Regions from separate parts of the Homo sapiens genome. Here regions 1 and 2 are each linked to region 3. Evidence: promoter capture Hi-C in human tissues and cell types (Jung and others, 2019). All regions are on one chromosome and are shown on one strand. Each heading gives the region's core, a stretch centred on a gene start or on the middle of the fragment in contact. The rest is flanking DNA. Distances are from core to core; before and after follow the strand shown. Region 1 overlaps C15orf61 (chromosome 15 open reading frame 61). Region 2 overlaps IQCH (IQ motif containing H). Region 3 holds the start of CALML4 (calmodulin like 4).

Region 1 (3,549 bases), core at 773-3,272, 680 kb after region 3:
CAAGGTCGCACCATTGCACTCCAGCCTAGACAACAAGACTGAAACTCCTTCTCAAAAAGAAAAGTTTGAATTTTTACGGAAGTCAACGTTAGAAAAATATTAATGCCCCAAAATGTGTGGTAAACTATAACTGTTTCTACAATTTGGCATTTTAGGACATCAACACTAAGAAAATAGAGATTTTTGTATTAGCAGCCTCTCTCACGCTCCCAAATAGGTTACTGCATCTTTATAGTGGCTCACAACTTACACAGGAACTAAGAATTTTGCCTAGGAATTTGCCTAGAAATTTATTCCAATACGTGATAATTCATTTGTATAGAAATAACAATAGAAGAGATGCAAGGTTTTGTACTAAAAGTACACCTTTATTAAAACAGTTTTGGTTGGATTAAAGATAAAAATCCTGTCAAAGAAATATGACAGAAAAGCTAATCAGTGGTTTCACCAATTAAGAAAACTACTGATATGCAGAAGAGAAGGGCCTCTTCAGCTCCCCACATGCCACTTCAGGGTTAGTGGGCATGTGCTATCAATGCATCTCTCCTTCTTTCTCCATCACCTTATTTTTGAAATTTTTTAATTAATGAAGTCCTTTAAGTATAATGGAGCAGAAGAATGTGGATTATAAAAACAGAGCTTTTGCAGAGACAAAAGTAAAATTGATGTACATTTTCGGGTAGAAATGTCTCTTGTTTCGTTCTTCTCAGATTACAGGTGGAAAAACCAAGACACAAAGGAGGAGAGTTATTAGCCTGAGGTCAAAAAGTAAGACAGCACCAATACTAAAAATAGACTCAGTCTCCTGACTTACACATTTATACTTTCTCCCTTTCAGGCCATAATACTTTGGTGTAATATGCAGCTTTAAAGAAAAAACTTAAACCATTGCTGTTCAATGGGAAGTATTGTTTTCAGACTACAAGTTTACAAGACTTAATAAATCCAATGAATGATATTTAAATTTTTAAACCACGCCTTTACCCATTGTTGAGTTAGTTCATCCTTCACCATGATCAACTCCGTAAGAGCAAGAGGTCTATTGATTTTCATGTAATACAAGAAAATATTACATTTACTTGTTATACAGTGAGCACATCAGACAAGAAATCAAGGCCCTGTTTAATGCTGCAAGCAGCAGAGAATTACAGAGATCAATAGGGTAGTTTGTCAAAGATGTTCTCCAAGGACACTTACCTATCACATATGGGCAAGAAGTCACACTGACTATAGCTATTGAAAAACAGGTAAGCAGAGTCAGCAGTACAAATTATCAGAAATCAAACAGGCCAGTGTGAAAAGAGGTGCAACTCTACTGAAAAGCTGTATTTATAGTCTGGTAATTAAAGACCATTTTATCAGCCTTGTGTTGGGACCAAACCTTTACAGCCACTATTGACAAGACCAGCAGCAATGAATGAGCAGTATTTGACTTAAAACTTATGAGCTATAGTTATTTAACTTTGCCCATTACAGAGGAAATCAGTTCTAGCCTTCCCTGCAAAATGCTAATAGCCAGTTGTTTTATTATTAATGAAGCTTAATGTAACACTATCTCCTTTGTGTAAGCCATTCATTTAACTAGTGTCAAGTATATTCTTCTGGACTAAATATATTGGCATAAGTACTTCTTTGATTAAAGTGTTACTTAGAATTGCTTTTAGACAAGTGAACACCACATATATTTGAAGAACAGTTCACTCTGTAGATCATTTAAAATGACTACCTTTAACGAAGCTAGTTTGTATTACTTCATTATTCTGGTGCCTTCACCTCAGTCACTTCCACTCACTTTCTCTACTGACTTGACATAAGCATCCAAATGTTGAATTTTATAAAATGTTTTGCTACAAAAATGTGTAAGTGTTGCAGAGTATCAGCAACACATTAACATAAAATGATATATAATGTATGTTTGTAATTATGGGAGAGATCATAAATCTTAAACACCCATTGGTTTAGAAATTAAATAGTTCTACTTAGTTCTCCCTAAATTACTCCAAATGTCTGAAATTTACCATTCATCTGGGTATTTTGTGACTACCCCAAGGATACATTTTTTTAAATGACTTGGCTTTCAAAAATGCAATTAAGTTAATAAAATTCAAATGCAAAAGTGCCATTAGGTCTTTAAAATTTCAGCCCACTCCTTATTGCCAATAAGTCTATGGATATGTACCATTTCAGTTAATTGCTTTTATAAACAGTTACCAAATTTATTTTTCTGCATCTTTCTAGAAGATCTTAATTGTTCTTACAGCTTTATAGGAAAGCTGTTTTAACTTTTAATAAGTCTGAGTTTCATTCACCTTGCTACACTTATATTAACCAGTTATTATTACATTTTACAAACGATATGGTTTTGGACTCTTTAAGCAACAAGAAGTTTCAACATTACACTCCAACCCCTCCTCCAGGTAAATGGCACAAGGCCTTTAAAACGTTTCTATTTACAATCCTGGCAGCTGAATGGTTTAGACTTGAGATTACAATTAGATTCTCATCAATTTTGGATTTGCCAATGATGTAATATTTCCATCATACATCCTAATGTCTTCTACTTCTTTTTCCATTGTTACATAAAAGATTTTCCCCCCTTCTCTTTTGTGTGGGCATCTATATTTTCTCTTCAGAGTTGATTTAAATTGTTAATTAACTATAGAATCTATTACATTGTAATCATTTTTTATCTGTAGGTTAACCTAGTTCTAGGGAAAAAATGGTGTGAAGCTTCATGTGTTTGTAGTTCACATCAGCTAAACAGAGTATGTAATATATAACGATGTATAAAAAGCTTCACCTCTTGAGGGCAATGATTCATCTTAAAGAAGCAGATACTGTAGAAAGAAAAAAGTATTTGCAAAAGTTTTATTTTAAAGGATCAAAAATAAATACTGCACATATACACAGAGAAAATCCACTGATATTTATGTTCTTTGACGCACACTTTCAATACATGGCACCTTCATCTTCTTTATTGAGAAAATAAACTGTTATGGGTCCATAACTGGTATGCACAGTCTCTGTGACTCTGGCAAATAACCAGGAGCCAAGTCCATATAATAAAGTTGGAATACCTAGAAAACAAACGAATATGTATAAACATCAATGCTTATTAATCATGCAAGTTACTGATCACGTATAACACTCTTCAGCAATGTTAACAAATTACAATGTGATAAAATATAAAAATATTAATCAACATTGACTCTGATTATCTAAGAGCTCAATTTCATCAACGTGGCACATGATGGCAATCACGTGAGTCCAGAGGTTTTCATACTATAGACAAGGCGGGTATAAATGTTAATTCGAGTACTTCATAAATTCATTACCCTCAAATAATCATGAAGTAATGCTATATTCTTTTCATAAATAAGAAAATGGAGAAGAATACTCATTAATTTAGTTGTAGACGCTCCTGATTATTAGCCTTGAGCTAAAATTACTAAGTTAACACTACTGTTTGTTTGTTTGTTTGTGAGATGGAGTCTCACTCTGTTGGCAGGTTGGAGTGCAGTGGCGCGATCTCGGCTCGCTGCCACCTCC
Region 2 (4,034 bases), core at 471-2,970, 750 kb after region 3:
TGCACTATCAAATATGGTAGCCACTAGCCTCATGTGGCTATTGAGCACTTGAAATGGTACAAATGCACACCAGATTTTGAGGACTGAGGATGTAAAAAAGAATGCAAAGTATCTCATTAATAAGAAAGTATTAATAATAAGATAATAATAAAACCACTGCTGCCTTGACTTCCTGGGCTCAAGCGATCCTCCTGCCTCAGCCTCCTGAGTAGCTAGGACTAATAGGTTTGCACCACCAAACCCTGCTAATTTTTTTTTCTTTCCTTTTTTGTAGAGACAAGATCTTGTTGCCCAGGCTGGTCTCAAACTCCTGCGTTCAAATGATACTCTCGCCTTGGCCTCCAAAAGTGTTGGGATTGCAGACCTGAGCTACTATGCCTGGCTGAATTCTATTTCTATTGGATTGGTTGTAAAGAAGTGCATTGTAGCCTGCAAAGGAGCAGGGCCAGTGGGGTGGAGAGGGCAGAAGTGCTACAGAGGCCCCTGCTCTCCACTGCCCTGACTGCTACTGTGCTGGATGCCGTGTGAACCACAGCTGCATCTGGAGGCCTTGGGCAGGTGAGAGCCAGCAGACAGGGCAGGAGTCAGGCAAAGGTCAGCTTGCCCAGATTGTTCTGGTCCAAGGATCTGGACCGCAAGCTTTGAGATGACAATGTAGCAACATGCTTCTGTGTGGGGAGGGGTGGGAGAGAAGCCTGGTCTTGAGCCCTTTTTGCCTGAGGTGTTCTCAGCAGATGGAGGCTGCCTGCTCACCCCTGCTGCTTCTGCCTCTTTCTGGTGACAGGCGGGATGAATGGGTGGCAGAGCACGCAGATGTGGGCAGATGTGCTCAGGCCCTACATTCTGTGCAAATAAAGTTCTCAGCAAAGGGTTTAGTGTTGCCTCTTGCCACCCTTCTCCTATGGGCATCAGGGCACGTATGGGACTCAGAGACTAATTTATAGATCAAATAACACTCACTGAAGAATCAGGATTTCAGAGCTTTATGAATCCAAAGATGCTCTGCAGACTCATCTCTAAGTTTTCTTATCGTCTTCTTCCTCTTTTTCTTTTTGTAAGAAGAACCAGAGATTTCAGACAGGATAAATGACCCACTAAAGGCCCCAGCTTTTGGTATCAGGGTCTGAGACAAATATCTGTGACCCAAAAGAAGTTGCCTCTCCGGGCCACACTTTCCTTAACTAATCACTCACTGGGGATAGTAGTCTGGGTGAATCCTCCCTCTGTTGCCTCCAGATGTATCTATGAGGCTAACAGGGAATTGTGTATATTTATCATATTGCCGAAAATTTTTAAAAAGACAGGCACTCCAAATAAGCCAACTCTGAGACATGCAGTACTGAGAATTCACCCACGCCAGAAATGGCATCCAGCCTTCAGGGTGAACTGTGATACACGGCCCATCATGCTCAGTAGCTGGTTGGCCAAAGGGATGTGTGAGTCACCTCTCTGCCCATGTTCACAGCATTCACAGCCCCAGTTCGACAGAAAATCCAGCATTGGACCACTTGATTTTTTCTAGAGTAAGACCAAGTGCTCGGTCACCTGCCCAGCTCCTCTGGTTGGTAGAGAATACAGCCATGGGTAGGCCATGGTTCCCTCTGTTTTACTGGTTTGGCTAGGTACAGAGCCAAGGGCTTATTTCCTTTTTACAGCTGTGGAGGCTGGGAATGCACTGGAGAGTGTTGAGTGGAGGAGTGATGTGAGCTAACTAATGTGACTCTAATTGCATTGACAAGAGGCCCTGAGGGGGCAAGGATGGAAACAGGGAGTCCAGTTAGGAAGACTTGCAGTAATTGAGGTGAGAGATGATGGTGGCTGGACCACACTGGTAACTGGAAGGTGGGAGAAGTGGTTGTATTATAGATATTTTTCAAAAGTAGAACTAAAAGGACTTATTGATGGATTGGATGTGCAGTATGAGAAAAAGGAGCCAAAGGTGTCTCCAAAACTTCCACCCTGAAGAAAATGGAAGAATAGCATTACCATTTCCCACTGGGGCAGAATGCCAGAGAAATACCTTGGAGGGTAAAATCAAGATTTCAGATCAGTTAAGTTTGAGATGCCTTTGTTACAGCATGTTATAGAGGGTGGGTTGAAATCTCAGGCACTTTTTCTCCTTTTGCAGCTGTAAAATCAGGAGGATGTGCATGGCTAGGCTCTAGGGATAAAACAGAATCAGTTCCTGGGAGGGAAGAAGCTTTTTCTCTGCTCTCACTTCTGGGCCTGGGGCTCAAGATTCTCCTGGATTGGTGAGAAGTGAGGTCTATAGGACCTGAGGCCTTCCCCAGGGGACAAGGCAGAGGCAGCTCAGTCCACTTCTCATCACGTTTAGGCTAAGATGCAGTAAGGTGGAGAAGGACAGGGGCAGCTTGGTAGGGGAAAAGTGACAACAGCTTGAGAGTAATGGGATTGGAGGGGACCGTGGCTTGGGAGAGGTGGATGGCTTTCTCAGGACAGAGAGTGCCCTGGACCAGAGTCACAGGACCTCGCTGGGAGTGCTGGCCTTGTGGTCTTAAGCAACTTCTTTCCCCTCTCTGGGCCTATTTCCTTGTCTATTAATATAGGCCTGATGGGATCTATCCCTGAGGGATATGTGTGGATTCAGTGGCTAAATGAGATAGTGTGTGAGACTATTACTACAGAGGCCTGGCAGACATAAATCTGTTTTGGGTCCTGACCACTTCTTCCCCATCTGACTGTTGGGAGCAGAGTTTGAGCAGGTGTAAGAATTCACTTGGTTCTTGACTTCTGTGTTCTTGCCTGCTTCTCAGAGACAGGGAGCACATTTAACTCTTTGCAGATGCTATTTAAATACAGGCCTCAGAATCCCAGCTATTATAAACAGAACACGTTTTCTTAGGCAGTTACTAAATGACATATTTTTTCCCCACTTGGATCACTGAATCTCCAGACAGCATGGAGCTCTCCATTGTGGTAAACAACACACCTCATGCTTAATTTTAAAGGAGTTGGTACACCCCACTGTAAGAATTTTCAATTAGTAAAATACTAATGTGATTATGGTATTTGGTAAGAGTTGTTTGCATAACATTAAAATGCAATAGGCCCTCTGCCTAAATCAATAGGCAGAGGGGAGAGCAGCCGCTTGGCTTGTTGCCACCTGGTGGCAGCTGTTGGGATAGCCCAGTCTCTTGGAGAAGTGAAGAACGGCAGTTGTCGCTGTACAGGGCAGTCACCCCGGTCAGCAATTGAGCCTCTTGGTTTTCAGCTTAGAGGCCTTCCCCTCTGTCTCTGTTAATCCTACTCATCTTTTTGGGCATGACTTAAATCACAGCTCCACGAAGCTATCTTTGAGCAACTAGAGCTTCCATCTCTGTACCAATCCCCTTGGACACTGCCTTCTATGGGGTGTTTGGAGTGGGTGGGGTAAGAGGCTGCAAACCATCTGTGCCCCACCACTTAGCACTCAGGGCCAGGCGTACCTAAGACTTCCGTGATTTTCAAAGGCCTTCAAAACTTTTGGATTCTGAAAAAAATCCAAAATCCATATTTGGGAGTTCCTGGCTCCCAAATATGAAAAGAAAACAGCAAAATAACAATGTTTTAAAAATATCAACCAAATAGAACATGTCGGTCAGATACAACACAATACTAATACAGTTATGTCTAAATCATATTCCATGATTATCCTCATGGAATAGATGAAATGGATTTTTAATACATTTGATACGATGTAGGATGGAATCTCTAAAACTAAAAATACTCAGGGCTTAGGGAGGTCTTAACCAGCACTGTCCTGGCTGACTGAGAATGACCTCCATCCTTCTCATCTCTTCATTTTATGGGTGAGGACTCTGAGGGTGAAATGACTTCTCAGGTCCCACATTTAGGGGAGGAACTAGAATCAAAGCCCAAGTTCCTGACTTCCAGGCTAGTTCTTTCTATGACACTTCATTGCCAGCATTAGTAGATCAATTTCTTCAGAGTGCCAAGTTTCTCTGTGACTTTGGAAATTCGTTCATGATATGCAGAAACTATATCTAAAATTAATTTGAGGATCAAAAATGGAA
Region 3 (3,852 bases), core at 1,022-3,521:
TGTGGTCCCAAAGTAGGTCAGTAGGTTGGGGTTGCTGACACCCCTTGGGTGCAGCTTTGGGACAGATGAGTGGCTCTGTCCTGTCACTGCCCTCTCCCTGCCTGGGGGCTATGTGCACTCCAGACCCCTGCCCAGGCTCAGGCCCATGAGGTATGGAGACACCCTGGCCCCCAGGAGCTGGAGGCACCGCCCACTCCCCTGGCATTCCAGCTTTGCAGGTGACCCTCCTCTACCCAAAGCTCTGTCCCCCTGCTCCCACTCCAGAAGAACTGCGGCACGCGCTTCGGGCAGCCTAGCCACAGGCTTTGAGCGCCTGCATTCCTGGGGGCTGGAGGGTGGGGTGCCAAAGGCCCTGAGCAAAAGCCAGAGCTCCTCTCATCAAAGCCTTTACAAGGTGCTGGGCCCAGAGGCTTTGCCTTGACAGAGTGGCCCAGGGTTTCAAGGGAGGAGGAACCTCCCCCTACCTAGGACCCTTCCTGTGGGGGGTCTACAGAGTCAGGGACAGAAGGGAAGGGACCCACAGGAAGTCACAGTGGTGCCCAGGGATGTGTCAGCCCCCAGCCACGGGGACGCGGGATTCAAGAATGAAGTAAATACAGTCACAGCCCCAAGTGGTGTTAGAGGTGTTTTTTGTCTTTTCTCCCTTTCGTGCTGAGGTGTAGCACACACGGTGCGCCCTACAGCATGGTGAGTTGCTGTATCGTGAACCCTCACGCAGCCATTGCCCCACGCTGGTGTTTTCCATCTGTGCGTCACCCCCGGAGACACCTACACACATAAGGAGGGAGTTGGCCGGGGCACCCCAGCACACACTGGCCTAACTCCAAGGAGGCACCTCATCTCTTCTGGAGCCCCTTCCCACAGGCAAGGGGATTCAGAGGGAGCATGTTGGCCTGGCCGCCTTCAGGCTTCCAGAGTCCCAAGTGACTTTCCTTGATGTCCTTCTCTCCATCCTCTGCACAGAGGCAGCCTTCCCTCCTCTTATCCCTGCCATGGGGTTTGGGAGGGGGAGCCTCAAACTCTGACAGGGAGGAGTCGGAGTCCCCAGCTAAAATTCTCTGGGTCTAGAAACAGGTGTAAAGCGATTCTGGGGATGTGATTTGGGAGAAAAGCACACTTTCCACACAGAGGCGGTCAGGAAAGGAGCGGGGAGGGGAGAGTGGGGCACAGGCAGCGCCTCCCGTCTATGCGCCTGTGTGCAAAGTGGCACAATGCCCCCCTTCCTATTGGCAGTGCAGCCCCTGGCCAGCAACCACTCGCACCTGGGCTGGGGGCCTTTGTGTAGGGCACACCTGTGCAGCCACACCTACTTGTAGAGCCTCATAGACTCAGCTGTGGACAAAAGCCTCACGCCCCAAACAGGGAAATGGGATCTCAAGGGGAAGAAGCTGGGGAGGCCTCACACCCTGCCCCCATTTCCTCCTATGTGGGGGAGGGGAGCAGCACGAACTCCTGAAGACTTGGGAGCGTCAGCAGCTTCTGCGGAAGGGGTGGGGCTGAGGGTGGAGAGAGGAAGGGAAGGAAGAAAAGGGGAGCCTTCCTGGCCAGGGTAACCGGCACTAAGAGGCCTCACTCCAAGCCCCCGAGGAGCCTGTGGTGGGGCTGGAGACCCGGCTCAGGCCCCTCCACCACCCTTAAAGTCCTCAGAAGGTGGGAACTGAACTGGCACAGGATGGGAACCGGCTGTGCGCTGGCCACTTGATTTTGCCAGCTGCCCTGTAATTCAGCTGGTGAGGAAACTGAGGCACAGACTGAGGTAGAATGATTCGCCAGTCACTCAGCAAGTCAGCAGACGGGGAGGACTGAATCCCAGCCTGAGAGCACCGAAGCTTGTATCCCTGCAATACCGAGCCCCAAGCCTGCGAGCCCCGGTGCCCATCTCTGAGTTAGGCCGTCTTGGAAGGGTTCCCTTCCTCCTACAAGATGGTGTGTGAGGAGCCTTCAATACGACCCGGGGTGTAAAGTGTCCAACTCTAGTAGGGGCCTGATGGCATCCCCGCCGAGTCCCAGGAGAGAGAGAGAAGACCCCTTCCTGGAGTCCAGGGCTCCCGGGAAGAAACACTGGCATTTGTCCCTTTGCTTCGGCTTCTGGAGGCAGAGACTCTGAGCCCAGGGAGAGCCTTCTGCAGCCCCATTTCCTCAAAAATCCAACCTGCCCAGGTGGCGGGTCATGAGCTGTGCTCAGGAAGCTGGAATCTGACCCTGGTGGCGTCGGGCCCAGTCTCCATGGCAGCCGAGCATTTATTACCCGGGCCTCCACCCAGCTTGGCAGACTTTAGACTTGAGGCTGGAGGAAAGGGAACTGAACGCGGTTCTGGGAGCAGCAAGCCCACGGGTAGCAGCCGAGGCCCCAGAATGGTGAGTGTGAGGGTCTGTGTCGGCCTGGCCAGGGCTGGGGGCGTGAACCTCAGGTGGAGCCCTCCCCTGACTGTTTTCCTTTCTCTGCTGCAGGCCAAGTTTCTTTCCCAAGACCAAATTAATGGTAGGTTGGGTTTGTTCTTTGATTAGCAACTCAGCAAAATATGGGTCTCATTAGGCAATTTGCTCTGCTCATGTTTTCTTGGTGGGAAGGAAGGTGGCTGTGGGAGAGCTGGGCCCACCCAGGGCCAAGAGCTGCGGGGAGGCTGCTGTTGGCGGGGTGGGGGTTGGGGGTAAGCCTCCAAAATAGACATGTGGCTTTATACTTGTCAGTGTGACTTACAAGCCAGGGCGCTAAGACAGAACTTACTAGGTTTCCCTCCAGAACCTGACCAGTTGGATTTGGGGACTGAGGGGACTGGGGATGGAGAGAGAGACCATTAAAGGTATGGCTGGCAGCAGGGAAAGAGGAGGGGCTTTGTAATTGAGACAGAACAGAGGCCAGGTCTGCACTCTCTGGCAGGATGCGTCTACTCTCTGCGCCTCAGTCTCCCTATCTGTAAAATGGAGGGTCCACTGAGCCCCCTTTGCCCTGGCATCAAGCCTGGTTTGGGCGTGAGCACTTTATTCCCTGGGTCCCCTACTCTGCCAGCCCTCGACCAGGCTTCAGTTTCACACCGTGCAGGGTTCTATTTCCAGAAGGCCAAGAGCAAAGAGTTGCGTTACAAAGAACTTGGGGGCCCAGACCTGAGCCAGGGGAGCCTCATGGCTGCAGCCCCCCTGCACCTGGCAGGAGAGGCCCAGGAGGCACAGCCAGCTGCTGCTTGAGGTTGTGACCCTGAAACCTGTCCCAACAGTGGACGTCAATGGGCCTGAGAGTCCCCCGAGGCATCCCATTCCTCCAGGTCTTTGCTGAAACATCGCCTTCTCAGTGAGTCCTTCGCTGACCACTGGAGATAAAATTACAGGCACCTTGGGCCCTTGTGATCCAGGGTAGGGTCCTGAGAGCCCAGCCAAGTGGGGTTAGGGTTACCTGGGCAGGAGTTCCAGAGTTCTGGGTATTCTGAGCTTGGTCCAGAGGGGCAGGAATTGTGAGCTCCAGGTGGGCACCTCCACGTAGAACCCTGGAACTCTTTATCCCAAGAGGAGGGCCAGGGCAGGAGCAGGGACTTTTAAAACACAGGGCCCGGGGCAGTGCCCTCTTGTCCAGGTCTAACGGTGATAATGAATGGTGGACTGAGGGCTGGAGTCCAGCCTTCAGCCTCAGCATCCTCCCACCCATGCCTGGTTTTGAGGCTCACTGACCCTCCCTCCTGGGATAGCCAAAGCTCCCAGAAGGGAAGAAGGTAAATTGTCTTTGTATCCCAGTATCTGACACCAAGAAAGTGGCCACCAGTGTTTAATGAGTGTGTGAAAGACTGGATGGGGTGGCCTAGCGAAGTGGGAAGAACAGGGGCTTTGGAGGCAGCAGACCTGAAGCCTAATCACCCTTGA

The links. The method cuts DNA at HindIII sites, captures the fragments that hold promoters and counts their contacts. A contact is called where the count stands out against the background at its distance.
Region 1: a fragment that was not itself captured here is called in contact with the fragment with the promoter of CALML4 in region 3 in 2 of the 25 tissues and cell types used here (dorsolateral prefrontal cortex and lymphoblastoid cells).
Region 2: a fragment that was not itself captured here is called in contact with the fragment with the promoter of CALML4 in region 3 in 1 of the 25 tissues and cell types used here (lymphoblastoid cells).

Annotation. Positions count from the first base shown.
Region 1 is chr15:67,525,946-67,529,494 of GRCh38, reverse strand. It overlaps C15orf61 (chromosome 15 open reading frame 61), which reads right to left. Exons shown (of 2, transcript NM_001143936.2): 2 at 1-3,077. The coding sequence ends at 2,950. Among named protein-coding and RNA genes, the nearest start is that of IQCH-AS1, 5.9 kb to the right of the region's middle. The HindIII fragment of the contact is 3,545 bases long and covers 250-3,549 here.
Region 2 is chr15:67,456,216-67,460,249 of GRCh38, reverse strand. All of the region lies in intron 16 of IQCH (IQ motif containing H), which reads right to left. The region is part of intron 3 of IQCH-AS1 (IQCH antisense RNA 1); the gene reads left to right. Among named protein-coding and RNA genes, the nearest start is that of C15orf61, 63 kb to the left of the region's middle. RefSeq lists an enhancer at 3,005-3,299. The HindIII fragment of the contact is 5,129 bases long and covers 1-4,034 here.
Region 3 is chr15:68,203,751-68,207,602 of GRCh38, reverse strand. It overlaps CALML4 (calmodulin like 4), which reads left to right and starts at 2,271. Exons shown (of 5, transcript NM_033429.3): 1 at 2,271-2,358; 2 at 2,452-2,482. The coding sequence starts at 2,356. It overlaps CLN6 (CLN6 transmembrane ER protein), which reads left to right. Exons shown (of 7, transcript NM_017882.3): 7 at 1-611. RefSeq lists an enhancer at 1,278-1,572. The HindIII fragment of the contact is 22,474 bases long and covers 1-3,852 here.